Linked DNA regions of Homo sapiens: all the other regions are linked to region 1. Evidence: promoter capture Hi-C in 16 types of primary human blood cells and fetal thymus (Javierre and others, 2016). All regions are on one chromosome and are shown on one strand. Each heading gives the region's core, a stretch centred on a gene start or on the middle of the fragment in contact. The rest is flanking DNA. Distances are from core to core; before and after follow the strand shown. Region 1 holds the start of BTG1 (BTG anti-proliferation factor 1). Region 2 overlaps LOC105369896 (a long non-coding RNA gene). Region 3 overlaps LOC105369896 (a long non-coding RNA gene). Region 4 overlaps LOC105369896 (a long non-coding RNA gene). Region 5 has its middle 44 kb from the start of PLEKHG7.

Region 1 (2,823 bases), core at 172-2,671:
TAATGTCATTATTTTTGCTTCATTTCTATATCCTTTAGCTCAGTATTAAAAAGAAAAAAAAAACACTCAAAGTGGTGTGTTTTGCAATATTGATGATCAACTAAGGTCGGGATATTTATTTCCATCTGGTAGAGTTCAACTTCTGCCTCCTGTTTGCTTTCTCCATCTGCCTGCCTCCCTTCATCTTTCTTTTTTTCTTTTCCCCCTTCTCCTTAATGGAGTTGGGGTTAACCCTGTCTTAGGCCTAATCGTTTTAGCAGGCTCCCGCCTTCCTGTTACACTGGTTTTTAAGGTTGTTTTTTTTTTTTTTTGGTAGGGTTTCAAATAAACTTGAATGTCTACACTTAATACTTTCACAAGCTTCAAATTCTTTTTATTTTATTTTTATAAAGAGCAGGACTCAGGCTAGGACGGCATTTGGACTAGGTAAAAAAGAAAATCTTCAGTTTTGTGCACACAAGTTTTAAAATACATTGTACAGATTTTTTTTTTTTGGATACACACCACTCTTTACAGGATCCGCGTTATATCTGCTTTCAGTAACTGGCTCTCCTGTCCGCATCCAGTAAGGTTTCCACTCTTCTCTCCGTTGACTGCTGAAGTTACTGAAACAGCAACCACAAATGGCCTTACTAACCTACTTATTTTGCAATTAAACTTTTAAAAGATATCCCCCTACTCCTCCCCTAGGGTGGAACAGAAATGGCTCCGCGGCGTTGGCAGCTCGTCTGCGAGGGGACCCTGGCTCCCCGAGGCTGCAGTCCTTTTTCTTGGACAGAACGCCCCGCAGGACCGTTCCCTCCACTTTCCCCCGCACTAAGGCAGCGCACCGCCAGCACACACAGCGCTGGCGCCCGCATCGCGCCGCACCACACGCGTCTCCGGCTTGAGGAGCCAGTCACCGAGACCCGGAGCGGGAACGAGATGTAAACACGGAGTGGGGACATGCAGCCCGATCTGAGAAGGCGGCGTGAAGAGTAGACACAGCCTGCGCCAGGCGGTTCTTATTTACCCAGCACTTACACTCCAGGGCAAGCGGGCCCAGGCAGCGCACTCTTGGAGAAGGATGCACTGGCGCAGAGCCTGGACCTGCTGAAGCGGGAAGGAGGAGCTAGGGCTGGGGGCGGAGCTTTCACACGCGCACCCTCTGTTCCCTCCCTCCCTCCCTCGACACAAGCAACTGGGTCTCCAGCCGCCACTCCGGGTTTATTTGTTTACAAGCGGATTACGTCAGCTCCTCCCTCTCTTCCCTATCTCTGGACCCGCCTCCTGAACTCTTTTCCCGCCCCTTTCGGCTCCGAACCGGCTTGCGTCACAATGGTGCGATATTCGGATTGGCTGGAGTCGGCCATCACGCTCCAGCTACGCCACTTCCTTTTCGTGGCACTATAAAGGGTGCTGCACGGCGCTTGCATCTCTTCGCCTCTCGGAGCTGGAAATGCAGCTATTGAGATCTTCGAATGCTGCGGAGCTGGAGGCGGAGGCAGCTGGGGAGGTCCGAGCGATGTGACCAGGCCGCCATCGCTCGTCTCTTCCTCTCTCCTGCCGCCTCCTGTCTCGAAAATAACTTTTTTAGTCTAAAGAAAGAAAGACAAAAGTAGTCGTCCGCCCCTCACGCCCTCTCTTCCTCTCAGCCTTCCGCCCGGTGAGGAAGCCCGGGGTGGCTGCTCCGCCGTCGGGGCCGCGCCGCCGAGCCCCAGCCGCCCCGGGCCGCCCCCGCACGCCGCCCCCATGCATCCCTTCTACACCCGGGCCGCCACCATGATAGGCGAGATCGCCGCCGCCGTGTCCTTCATCTCCAAGTTTCTCCGCACCAAGGGGCTCACGAGCGAGCGACAGCTGCAGACCTTCAGCCAGAGCCTGCAGGAGCTGCTGGCAGGTGAGCAGGGCGAGGGCGTCGGAGGGACGCGGGCCCCACATCCCTGGGTCAGAGTCCGGCCGTCGGGGCTGCGGGAACCTCGGCAGCGCCCCGGGGCCGGTCGCGCTTGGGCCCCGCCGCGGGACCGGTGTGGTTGCGCTGGGTGGCCGCTAACAGCGGTTCCCCGCGAGGCTTTAGGGGCTGGACGGAGGGCGCCCCCTTCCCCCCAGCTGGCAAAACGGAGAGGAGAAGACAACACGCACAACAAAGAAACTTAAGCCCACCGAGGCGGGAGCTGCGGTCCGAGGACCGTCGGCGGATTTGGGGACAAAGGAGCCGTGGGGCTGGGGTGGGTTCGACGTCCCCTTTCCTCAGCCCCCTCCAACCGTTGCGTGGTCGGCGGCCCAGCCCCGGGGTGGGAAGCTGCGCCGCTGCCCCGGAGCCAGCTCAGAACGGACGTGCCGTCTCCCCGCGCCTCCTGCCCCTGCCCATTAATCATCGGATTTGTCACCGGCACAATTAACAGCCCTGCCCAGAGCGTGGTTTAGGGTTGCTTGTTTTTCTTCCCTTCGGGGTTAACAGTCCGGTGGCGCTTCTCATCTCCAAAGCCATCAACTCCATTGTGTGCATCTGGGGTGGGGTGGAGAAAGTAAACAGTTTCTCGCCTGGCCATAGGTGCCAGTGGCTTCCCGACTGGCCGAGGCTGCGCGCCTGATTCCTGTTTTGGCGGCTCAACCGGTTGGTTCCTGGAGATTGTTTTGTCCGGTACTACTGTGTTATTTCTAAAACCCTGCCCGCTTTTTCCATCCCCGCACATGCACAACAACGGATGCAATCCTGGACATTTTAAAAAGTTGATAGTTTTCATTTTCGCTCCTCAAAGGAGCCTGGGGTAGGAGGAATCCGCAGTGGGAGCTAACGATCCTAAGCGTTGTTTCTCTGTTCTTCTTTTCTTCTATAGAACA
Region 2 (2,823 bases), core at 153-2,652, 760 kb after region 1:
CCATGATCAATTAGCGATGTCGGCTATGGGAGTAGGAAACTGGGAATGGCAGTACCTATCCCACACATTTGCTCTTTTATCACAGGCATTCTGTAATTGTTTGTTGAGAGAACAAATACATTAGCAAACTTGAAGTAATGTTTCTTGCAATGTATATAACAATATTAAGTAAAATATTCTTTACTTCATTTCATAGCCTCTGATCTCAAGGATCACAAAACACATTGAGTATTTTTTATGTCACTGATCACTCCCTTTTAGTTTTGAATGTAGGTATTCATTTCTCTTAGAAGGGAATTTGAGACCCATAATCCATAAACAGATCATGCATATGCATAAAACAAATGTGATCTCCATGGTACCAAATATACAGGGTATCTGTTTTCTTCAGTAACTTGATTCAGTGGTTTTACATAGCCTTAAGATTACATGGTCAGTCAGAAGTAGGGCTTGGATGTCTGACTATTTTCCCCATAAACAGAAGGACAATATAATTTATAGTCCATACTTGGGACACCTTTGAGAGTGAATGGGGTGCTATTAATTATGTTGTAACAAGAGATGTAAACAAAAAACATTCTGGGACATGTGCGACGTATAGTCACCCTACTCTATAGAACTGTGACTCTAATTCTCCTATAGGCTACATTAAGTTGTTTGCTTAATATACACCCAAAACTGTAATTCCAATTGATTTCCTGTGGTTTCTTGGGTCACTGTATTGAGAAAGATATTAAGGCCGCTTCCAGATGTCACAGAAAAGGGTGCTGTGTTTCACTGGTGATGCCTGGTGGCTGACAAATGTGAATGAAAGGACAATGGTAGGAGTGCCCCTCACTTATGATTCCTGATCTAGAACTGAGAATCCACAGCTGTTTGCACTTCTACACTAGGTTCCTAGGAAGTAGTTATTTCCTCAATATTGACTCCTCCTCCATTTTGGTGCTTCAGTTCCCTTTGTGAGGATCTGGATTTCATATGACTTAGGCCATTCATAACCAAGATTTGCTGCTAACTTTCTAGACTTTATAAATTTGCTACTTACCATTTCCAGTTCTAGCTGTGCTACTCAGGATTCTTGATTTCTTGTCTATCCATACCGTCACAATTATAGACTTTTTTGTAAAATCACTTCCACCTAATTTTGGAATTACTGGGCTTCCAGTCCTCATGACCATACCCTTTACCTAGTGCATGGCTACGGGATCTTGTCTTTTATATAGCTTGGCTTCCATTTTTTAGCTTCCTAGCTATGACCAATTTCTCCCTGGCACCTGTAACTAGCAAAATCCTAAGTCCTTACATAACAGTTAATCTCAAAATCTAGTTTCCAAGCCAGTGCTCTCTCAAAGGTCTGTTGTTCTGTTTCCAAAATTAGCAATGAAACATGATGCAGGTATTTCTGATAAGAGGAGGATTTCATAATAAAATTACTCAGAAAAGTATCTCAATTATCAATTTTGTTTCAGCACAGAAGACAGAGCCTGAATGATCTTTGCCAAGTCCCTCAACTTAGTGTTTACAAAACTTCAAAATGTTTACTTAATATAATAATGACAAATCCCAGAGAGTTTTGTGAAGAATAACATAAAAGTCAGAAGGGCTTGCTTTGTTAATGCTAATTAACCCATTTGTGCCTGAAGCTGCAATTTTTTGAATTTTTGCAATCAGATCTTGGTGATGACCTTGAGCAGCAGGATATAAATAACTCCCAGATGCTTAGCGTTCCAATAATGGAACACTAGGCATAAATGGATCAGGACACCTGTCCTAATTCCATTATAGGATTGTACTGAGGAACGAATGCAGTGATAAATAACACAGTTGTTAGAAAATATAAACTATGGTCTTTTGTATAATGCAAATCTCAGATATGTTAGAAATGGCTTTTGTATTATTTATCTTAATCTAACGTAGTTTTAACTCCAAGACTCAATTCTACCATATTGCCAAGAATTCCTCTAGCCTTTTCAAAATAGCACCAGAGACTGGGAGCCTTAAATCTTCATGAAAATAGGGAAGAAGCTGATGTTCTGGCTAACATGGTCACTTCTGATTTTTTCACTATCCAGAAGATCCCCTTGACATCTGGCAGTTCTCAAGTGCTTGTGTACCAGTCTCAGGTGGGAATCTTTGGTCATGTTTGGAACGAACCCAGCTGTGGTCCCATCTCCTGGTAGCCATCTCTCACTTCTGCGGGCTCCTGACATCTAATATTCAACTCTGGAGTCATCCTGCCTTCTCCCACATTCATCTGAGGACCAGGGCTGTGGTTCCACTGCCCTAGGGCCTATGACCAATGAGCCTCTCTCCTCTGGGGGAAGACTCTCCACCCCTGGCTTCTACAAATTCTTCCTTGTCTTCTTTACTGCATGGGCAGGTGGGACAGGATGATTTCTTTCCATTTCCCCATCTCTTCTTCTCTCACTGGGCATCCTGATGGTGGCACAGGGGCAGCTAGGTGTCAGGGCTGGGACTTGAGCAACTCAATAGCTGACAGGCTCAGGGAGATAGGGAAATACATCACTGACAGCCTCGGCCTCTTCCTCTACAATCACCTCATTCTATTTCCAAACTCAATGCTGGACTCCCTCTCATGGGTTGTTGCACATTTGGTGATGAATTTCTTTAACTGGCTCTAGGCCAGGATGATAAAGCAAAGACTATAAAACACACAGAATTACTGCAAAGAAACAGAACCCACATTCTTTCCAGATATTGCATGTTGAAAACTACATATCCGTAGTCATCTGGAGATTTCGTTGTTTAGGAATACAATTCCTAGGTGGATTTTTCTTTTTCTTTTATTATTATAATTATTAT
Region 3 (2,823 bases), core at 227-2,726, 580 kb after region 1:
TAATTATCAAAACCAGAAAATTGGTAGAATGCTAAATAAATTTAGTAAACCATAAGCCTTACTTGAATTTCATCAGTTTTCTGCCTAACGTTTCTTTTACCCTTTTAGAATCAAATTTAAGAGCTCATAATGCATTTAATTATTGTGACTCCTTTGTCTCCTTCAATCACTAATAGTTTGTAAATGTTTTGTTATCTTTCATGGCCTTGACACTTTTGATGAGCTCTAATAAGTCATTTTGTTGAATATTTGGATTTGTCTGATGTTTTGTCATGATCATACGGAGATTATGCATTTTTTGGCAAGGATACCACAGAAGTGTTGTCTTTTTGTCAGTACGCTATACCAGGGAGCACAATATTTTGATGTGCCGCATTGCTAGTGTGTTAACCTTGATTATCTGGTATAGGTGGTATCTGCTGAGTTTCACCACTATAAAGTTACTACATTCTCTTTATAATTGATAAATATCTTTGGAAAGCTACTTCGAGGTTATGCCAACATACTGTTTCTCTTCAAAATTTTGCCCTTTGATATTGACATCCATTGGTGGATAGCATATTTTGAACTTGTAAATATTGCATTGACACATGTATTGGGAAAGATGTGGAACTGCTCACTTTGAGTGAGGCCAGGGAAGAAAGACCACTTTAACAGATATGAGGAGCTATGCCACATAAGGCATATAACCTGGCAGTGCCATGGTTAGCGGCATCTGTGGGAAACAAAAATACCAAATGGAGCCCCTGGCAAGCCTAGTAGGAGAATCACAGCACAGACCTCTGAGATTATGGAACTAGGCCTTGCCATCTGCAGAAAAGAACTTATGTATCATTTGAAAAGCAGCTCATGACATGCTACAATGCCATGATAAAAAAAAAAATGTCTGACTATGGAAACTCAAGTAACCTTCATGTACTGACTACTATAAGACCAACCAAGATACAAGGTGAGGTAGGCTAATCAGCAATTTATCATAAGATGGCTATTATACATGAAGGATTGGAATTGAACATGCTAGAGATTACAGTAATCTTCACAAAAAGATGACCCACGTATTTATGCCAACTGTATGACACCACTCTTTCGACTCATTCCTGTGGCTTCATGAGCTATCAGCTGCGAGAGGAAGAAAAGGCCCAAACTGAGCTCATGAAAGGGCCAACTTAAAATATGTTTGTAAGATGGAATTTTGTTTTTCTGCAACAAAGTTCCAGGCAAGGATGGTCCTGGAAGATAGTGATGGAGGAAAATCCTATCAACTGGGAGAGTATTGGAAAGTACATCTGGTCATTCACTTAATGTGGAGAGAGAAGCAGCCTTAAGTAAGGGTATACATAAACTCATGAGCAATAAATAACTTAGCTCCCTGTTGAAGAGCCTATAATGAGTGAAATCAGAAGTTCAAGGAGGGGAAAAATGTGTATGGACTTATGGAAATGAACAGAAAGTATTAGCATCACTATACTACTTCTTAATGCCATTGTAGAAGAGGCACTAAGCAACCAAGTGGAGAGAATGACTTCACTAGCTGATGTCAGCTGGATTCTGTCCTCAGCCATCTTAATGCTAGCAAAATAGGTTCATGAATATTGTTCTCATTATGGTAGAGACAGAGGCTATTCGTTGACTCAACAGCTTGGGCTCCCTCTCACCAGCACTGGCCTAACTATTGCTTCCAGTGCAGGTCTGATCTTCCAGGAACAGAAAGTGAAACTGAACCCCAAATGGGGTAACATGCTTTGAGGAAAGCAGCCAACCATATATTGGCAATTAGATTACATCACATCTCTTGCACACTAAAAATCACAACATTCCTATTTCTGCTATAACAAATTACCACAAATGTAAGGCTTAAAACAGCACAAATTTATTTTCTTAGAATATTGAGGTCAGAAATTGAACATAGATCTCACTGGGCTGAAATAATAAAGAATGAGCTGTGCCCTCTGGAGGCTCTAGGGGAGTTTTCCTTTCCTTGTCTTTTCCAGCTTCTAGAGAATGCCTGCATTCCTTGCCCCATACTTCAAAGTGAACGGTGATCCCATCATCTACTTGCACAGTCACATATTCTTCTCAGACTCTCACTCTTCTGCCTCTCTCTTTCCTCTTTTAAGGATCCTTGTACTACATAAGTGCAAATATTTCTCTGGTATGAAAGTGCTGAGTTAAAAACCATACACCATTTAAGTGTTGCTAAGCTGAAAGATACTCCTACCGACAATTTATGATGTATGTGAGTACTCATTTCCCTGCATCATTGCCAAAATTGGGTTTCATAAATCTTTTAAATTTTATCTTATATTATGGACTAAATATGGTATTTCATTGGAGGAAATTTTCATATGCTATTTTTTTAAACTAGAAATGTCATTCATTGAAACTAAATGAGTGAAGGCAGGACTAATGGCAATTTAAAAATATTTTATTAAACCTTCTGCCTCTCATGTTAGACATAGTTATAGGCGAGATTCTACTATTACATAGAGATCTAGGCCTTCTTCCAAATTATAATGCATAGCATATGCTGAAAAATAGTCATATACTTATATATCATGTTTCAATTTTTATATTGAAAGTTATTGTAAATGGTTTGTGCTAAGATCAAACTATTCAAAATTTCCAAATTTCAAGTTTCCATTCACCTCCCTTCCTGGATTTAACCCCTCACCTCTGCAGCCTTTCCATTATGACATTACTTTTATAAACAATGACATTACTTTTACAAACATTTACCTGCCAAGAGTCATCCTCATTATCTGTATTTTCATTCTCTCTCCCTGCCCTCAAAGAGACCCCAGGGAACAATCTGGCTTTCTTGTA
Region 4 (2,823 bases), core at 221-2,720, 570 kb after region 1:
GTTTTCAAGAGTGACTGGCATTAACTAGATATTTAAAAATTATATTTGTTGAATTAATTAAAAGGTACAGCTTTTTGGAAGCATAAGAAAATGAAACAACACTTTTATAGTCACAGAATTTAATTGGGTTTTAGAAAATATTAAACTCTAGCTTTTTCACTTTTCATCATTATAAAATTCCTGAAGCTAATCAATGAGCAAAACATTAGTAGTACTGCTACTTCATGTAAGTTATGTAGCACCCTGAGCTCTTTGGCAAAAAATGACTCTAAAACATAATATATGTTAACATATGTAAAGTGGATAGTGACTGATTTTCAAAACATTATTCATACATGTGTGACTTTAATTAGGAAGCTATAATAGATACACTATGAATTTTCATGAAGAAAAAAAACAGCATCTGGACTTGAGATTCTACACAAAGAAAAAGCTGGGTTTCTTCCTTCTTGTCCAGAGTATATAAAACCTATATTTCCTTCAGTCAGAATTTTCTCAAAAATAGCAAACTAAAACTCTAGTAAAATCAATCAGCTTTCACCACCAGTTTTAAAAATGGTAATTCAAAGCTTGTAAAAAAAGGACCGTGATTCCACATTTTTAATTTTCTCACAGAACTATAACTTGAAAATATGTTCTATACATTACTATTTTGTATATGTAGTTTTTAAAGATATTAACTTGTTACAAGTATATTTCTCTGAAGATGTTCATCTTTTTTGCTGTTTCTTTTAAATTATTTTCAACTGTAAACCTACTGAGATTTGAGTTTTTTAGCACTGTCAAAAAATACTTACTTCAAGAAACATTATTCTCCTAAATGTATAGAAGATATTTCAAGAGATCATAATTTCATATTAGATATTCATAAAGAATTTTCTTTCATAAAATAAACAGATTTTTGCCATTTTATAAATGCACATAAAAGCAGTAACTGTTCTTAATTTACCAACATTTCTTTTTGCCTCCTAGAACACTTACATCTGATATAATAAGATAATTACTAAGTGTCTTATAAGTGTTTCTTTAATGTATCATCTCTCCCAAAACTTTGAAATCTCCTGGAAGACAATAAACTGCTGAAATAATTCTTTCCCCTCTTCTGTTATTAAACATAAAATAAGCATTCAAACATATTTGTTTGATTCAACAATTGAAAATTAATTTGAATACTACCCATTCAATGCAAATAACTATACATATACAAAAATTATGGGTCATTATCATCCTTTAAGTCAAGTAAATAAGTAATTGTTCTAAGAAATTAAAAAGCTATATTTTTCCTTTATTGTTAAATGTTAAATAATTCAATATTGCTTCCTTGCAAAATTACTCAATGAATATATATTGCTTTGATCATTCAAAGTTATGTATATATACACATACATATACACACATACATGGATATTCAACTATTTGCTGTGCACTGTGTTGGATCCATTGTACGTGTTTTCTTTCTTTCCTCCCAACATCTCTTAAAAACATAATTGTCTTCACATTACAGATGAGGGAGCTGAAGATTAGAGAAGCACAATTAATTGTCTAAGGTTTTACTGTCAGTAACAATCAAAGCTGAGATTTAAATGCAAGTATTTAGAATGCAAATTTAATTATATTTCCAAAATATTACAGCTAATTCTTCACATGCATATTCTATCTTCAAACAAATGGGTATTACTGGTATATATTAAGTACATATATAACATACTGAAGCACATTCTAAGAGATAGAGTAGCCTGTAAACATAGATCAGCAACTGTAAATGGATACACAGTAAGGCATATACAGGTACAGGACTGGCTTTCTTGACTTGACATTAAGTATATGCACCAAGTAAAAGAGAGCTGCATTTCAGCCCTTTTCAGTGTGGCTCTTATTTGGGTTAGAAAAATGGTGATTATTTTTTATGACAGGAAGGATCAGATCATCTTAATTCATCATCTCCTTTGCATTCACTCTGAATCATTTTTCTGTCTTGGCCTACAAATTAGTAATGTTTTTTATTGCTTAACAATGCAAAGAATTATCTCATCATCTAAGTTCAACTCTATAATATTTAAGTTAATCAATATTTGCCATTTGTTAGGCATATGATAGATATTCAGATATTTACTAAGTTTAGACTGTATGACGGATTTTCTCTGAAACTAAGACCACTAGGTCAGTTAAAGTATTCCATCCAAACCCCACTGTGAATTATATTGCTGATTTTAAATGAGCTTCTATCCAGGCTGTTCAAGCACATGTTTCTTTCAGATCTTTGGCATCTCTGATTTTATTCTACCTTCAGGAATTAGGAAAATCAAGCTGAGTCCTTTAGTTTTATGTTTCCTCTGTATAAGTAGCGTCTACAATAAATACCAAAGCTTAAAGATTAATAAATCCCTCCACGTACAACAGGATTTATGACAGAAAACTGCAGTATTTTTACTAATTATTACAAATGACAATTGAAAATACTCACTTCTGGCTTTGCTCTTTTTATGACTGTAAAAGCCACTAGCATAAGGATGCCTCTTTTTGGTTAGGCTCATAATCTTTGATTTATCTTCTTCAATTCTGAGAAAATAAGCACTGAGGGGGGTCTGGTTTATATTACTGGGACAAGACAATGGCTCTAATCTGCAATCTTCTATTTTGTTTCTGCTGTTCAAAGACCAATTTCAATTTTAACTTGCCTGTTGTCCCTTTTCTGTTGGTAGAAAGCTGTTTTGATTACAGGAGGGGTGGAGGTGGTGGGGGTGAGGTGATGTCAGTGGTGATGGTGGTGGTGTTGTGTGTGTGCCTGTGTGTGTGTGTGTGTGTGTGTGTGTGTGTGTGCGT
Region 5 (2,823 bases), core at 97-2,596, 510 kb before region 1:
TTTAAATTTCCTCAGTTATCTTAAGAAGTTGGTTTGGTTTCAATCAGCCTCCAAAAAGGTCTACATACAGCATATGGTTGGGGTGTATTTTGAGTATTTCCTGATATAGGTGACTATATCAATTAGTTTTAGCTATTAAAGCACTACAAAGCTCAATGGCATAAATCAAGCTTGTCCAACCCATGGCCTACGGGACCACATGCAGCCCAGCATGGCTTTGGATGTGGCCCAACACAAATTTGCAAACTTTCTTAAAACATTATGAGATTTTTTTTGCAATTTTTTTAAAGCTCATCAGCTATCCTTAGTGTATTTTATGTGTGGCCAAAGGCAATTCTTCCCTTGTGGTCCAGGGAAGCCAAAAGATAGGATACCCCTGGTGTAAATCAACATCCCATTTTGGAAGAATTTGTGGTTTGGCGATTTGAGCTGGGCTCAGGTGTGAGAAGGTGCTAGGTCAGCTGGAGCCTGGCTGGTGTGTCGTGGTGGTTGGGGTACAAAGCTTACCTGGGATGGTTCATCTTTGTCCCAGGTGGTCTCTCATCCCCCAGTAGGCTACCCTGGGTTTACTCACCTGGTGTCAGGTTTTTTTTGTAGCAATTAGGAAATCCCAAAAGGTCTCTTAAAGCCTAGGCTTGAACTGCAATGCTGCTTTGTCACATTCCATTGGCCAAAGAAGGCACAAGACCAACTCCACCTGTTGATGGGAGAAATTGCAAAGCTATATTGCAAAGGACGTAGCTGTTAAGGAAGGGAATAATTTGTGAAAATTTTGGCAATCTACTATAGCCACTTACCAAACTTGTTTTGATTTCCATAACCCTTAAAATCTGTCAAAGAATACATATCTCCTAAAGCTTACATTTTAACTTCAAACTATTCTTAAATGAATAGAAATTGATCACTAATAAATTTTTAAGAAATATTGTCATTCAACACAGCCATATGATCTTTTTGTTCTTGTACAAAAAATTTTCTCATTTCCTTTAAGTGGTATAAAGGCATTTATTTCAATGCCTGAAAAAGTTTCATACAATGTATAACTAGAACATAATAAAAAGTTCGAGGGCCAGGTGTGATGGCTTATGCCTGTAATCCCAGCACTTTGAGAGGCCAAGGTGGGAAGATCACATGAACCCAGGAGTTCAAGACCAGGCTGGGCAATATGGTGAAACCTTGTCTCTACTAAAAAGACAAAAAATTAGCTGAGCATGGTGGCATGTGCCTGTAGTCCCAGCTACTCAAGAGGCTGAGGCGGGAGGATTGCTTGAGCCCAGGAGGTTGAAACTGCAGTGAGGCATGAATGGGCCATTACACTCCAGTCTGGGCAACAGAGTGAGACCCTGTTTCAAAAAAAAAAAAAAAGTTTTGATTCATTTTAATTTCAACATGTAAAATTGTAATGTTTTGTTTTGTTATTTTTCTCTTTCCAGAGGGTTACTAAATACATTAAACTGTTGGGAAGGGCATTGTATTTCTCTGGTCCAGGGCAATAATTCAATAGGGATCAAGGAAAGCTCTTTGTAAAAGCTATCTATAGGACAAGGGCTTAATTTATGTGGTGGTTTCTGCTAAATACCTTGCATTAAAGAAAAACTACCAACTGTTAAAGAGCAATGGCAGGTCAACTTACTTTGGTAGTAAAGGGACGTGATGATGAGAAGGTTGATCAAACAGGTGTAAATCTTTTCTGAATCTACAGTTTTAATTTTGCCTGATGATAAAATTATAGGCTTTATCATGATGAACTGCGGCCGGCTCATACTAGCTTGTGAGAGTCACTGGCCTCATATCTTTCTAATTCCATGTTCAGTAAAGTCATGTTGGAAGCTTGATATTGGCCAGAGTGAGAGTATTTACACCATGGAAACTGGCAAATGCTACAAAAGAGGGCCTCTTTTTGTTTTGTTTTTTTTTTTGATGGTCAGTTGTTAAACATTTGTAGCATACCACTGGCCTTTACCCACATAAAAAACAACAGGTACTGCTTTCCAGGCATATTTAAAAAGAGTTTCTTTTGCAATGAAGGACAGTAATCATGGAAGGAGGGGAGGGCTTCCCTTGGCATCTTTTCCATCCATATGTGTCTCCAGATTGCTGGTAGCCTGGTTGAGTATGAGCAAAGATTAAGAAATGAGAAGCAGAGACCAGGGAAAGGAACAGGGAATGTGCCTGGTCCTTTGCTTACGCTATTGACTCTGACTTTCATCGGGCTCAGGCCAGACATGCTCTTCAGCTTGTTTCTAAGTGCTCAACATCCTCTGAGTCTTTTAACAAGAAATGTAGAAATGGAAGCAATTCTTCATATGTTACGGAATTCAGCTACTTGCCATGCAGCCCTGATGAAATCCCTTACCTGCCACAGTGTTTCCCATCTGCGAATCAGAGATGGGAAATCTGCTCCTCCTCATTGTGCAAGTAGTTATGGTTAAAGCCAGGTTAGGTTGCCTCTCCCTGTAGAGTAATAAATGGAATAGGATGAGATAATTCTTAAGAGTCCCTCTGAAGAGGGCTCTCCATGGAGAAGGAAAAGGAGAAGGAAATTTGGAAGCCGTCGGGTAAGACCTTGTTGAAACTGTAGTTCATAGAATAGCAGCATTGGTGTCACCTGGGAGTTTGTCAGAAACGCAAAATCTTAGGCCCTACCCAGAACTATTGCATCAGAATCTGCATTTTGACAAGATTCCAGGTGAATTTTATACACATTATAGTTTGAGAATGATTTAAGCAATGGTTTATTCATGGAACCAGAGAAATACTCTTTTTTTTTTTTTTTTGGTAGAGTATGTACTTTAATCTTATTCATAGCTCCATGTTATTTCC

The links. The method cuts DNA at HindIII sites, captures the fragments that hold promoters and counts their contacts. A CHiCAGO score of 5 or more calls a contact.
Region 2: a contact is called between a fragment that was not itself captured here and the fragment with the promoter of BTG1 in region 1, in 14 of 17 cell types (naive CD4 T cells, total CD4 T cells, naive CD8 T cells and 11 more). The highest score is 26.8, in naive CD4 T cells.
Region 3: a contact is called between a fragment that was not itself captured here and the fragment with the promoter of BTG1 in region 1, in 2 of 17 cell types (activated CD4 T cells and total CD4 T cells). The highest score is 6.0, in activated CD4 T cells.
Region 4: a fragment that was not itself captured here is called in contact with the fragment with the promoter of BTG1 in region 1 in 9 of 17 cell types (non-activated CD4 T cells, M2 macrophages, naive CD4 T cells and 6 more); the score reaches 15.8 in non-activated CD4 T cells.
Region 5: a contact is called between a fragment that was not itself captured here and the fragment with the promoter of BTG1 in region 1, in 3 of 17 cell types (M2 macrophages, M1 macrophages and total B cells). The highest score is 5.7, in M2 macrophages.

Annotation. Positions count from the first base shown.
Region 1 is chr12:92,144,444-92,147,266 of GRCh38, reverse strand. BTG1 (BTG anti-proliferation factor 1) reads left to right here and starts at 1,421. Exons shown (of 2, transcript NM_001731.3): 1 at 1,421-1,879; 2 at 2,820-2,823. The coding sequence starts at 1,732. It overlaps BTG1-DT (BTG1 divergent transcript), which reads right to left and starts at 1,182. Exons shown (of 3, transcript NR_135036.1): 1 at 1,024-1,182; 2 at 505-605. RefSeq lists enhancers at 770-1,069, 1,904-2,440, 2,400-2,449, 2,710-2,759, 2,780-2,823 and a silencer at 1,660-1,979. The HindIII fragment of the contact is 11,880 bases long and covers 363-2,823 here.
Region 2 is chr12:91,383,106-91,385,928 of GRCh38, reverse strand. All of the region lies in intron 4 of LOC105369896 (a long non-coding RNA gene), which reads left to right. Among named protein-coding and RNA genes, the nearest start is that of LINC02823, 58 kb to the right of the region's middle. The HindIII fragment of the contact is 3,526 bases long and covers 1-2,823 here.
Region 3 is chr12:91,561,485-91,564,307 of GRCh38, reverse strand. All of the region lies in intron 1 of LOC105369896 (a long non-coding RNA gene), which reads left to right. Among named protein-coding and RNA genes, the nearest start is that of LINC02823, 240 kb to the right of the region's middle. The HindIII fragment of the contact is 3,807 bases long and covers 1-2,823 here.
Region 4 is chr12:91,579,154-91,581,976 of GRCh38, reverse strand. The region is part of intron 1 of LOC105369896 (a long non-coding RNA gene); the gene reads left to right. Among named protein-coding and RNA genes, the nearest start is that of LINC02823, 250 kb to the right of the region's middle. The HindIII fragment of the contact is 1,797 bases long and covers 572-2,368 here.
Region 5 is chr12:92,658,072-92,660,894 of GRCh38, reverse strand. No RefSeq gene overlaps it. Among named protein-coding and RNA genes, the nearest start is that of PLEKHG7, 44 kb to the left of the region's middle. The HindIII fragment of the contact is 973 bases long and covers 860-1,832 here.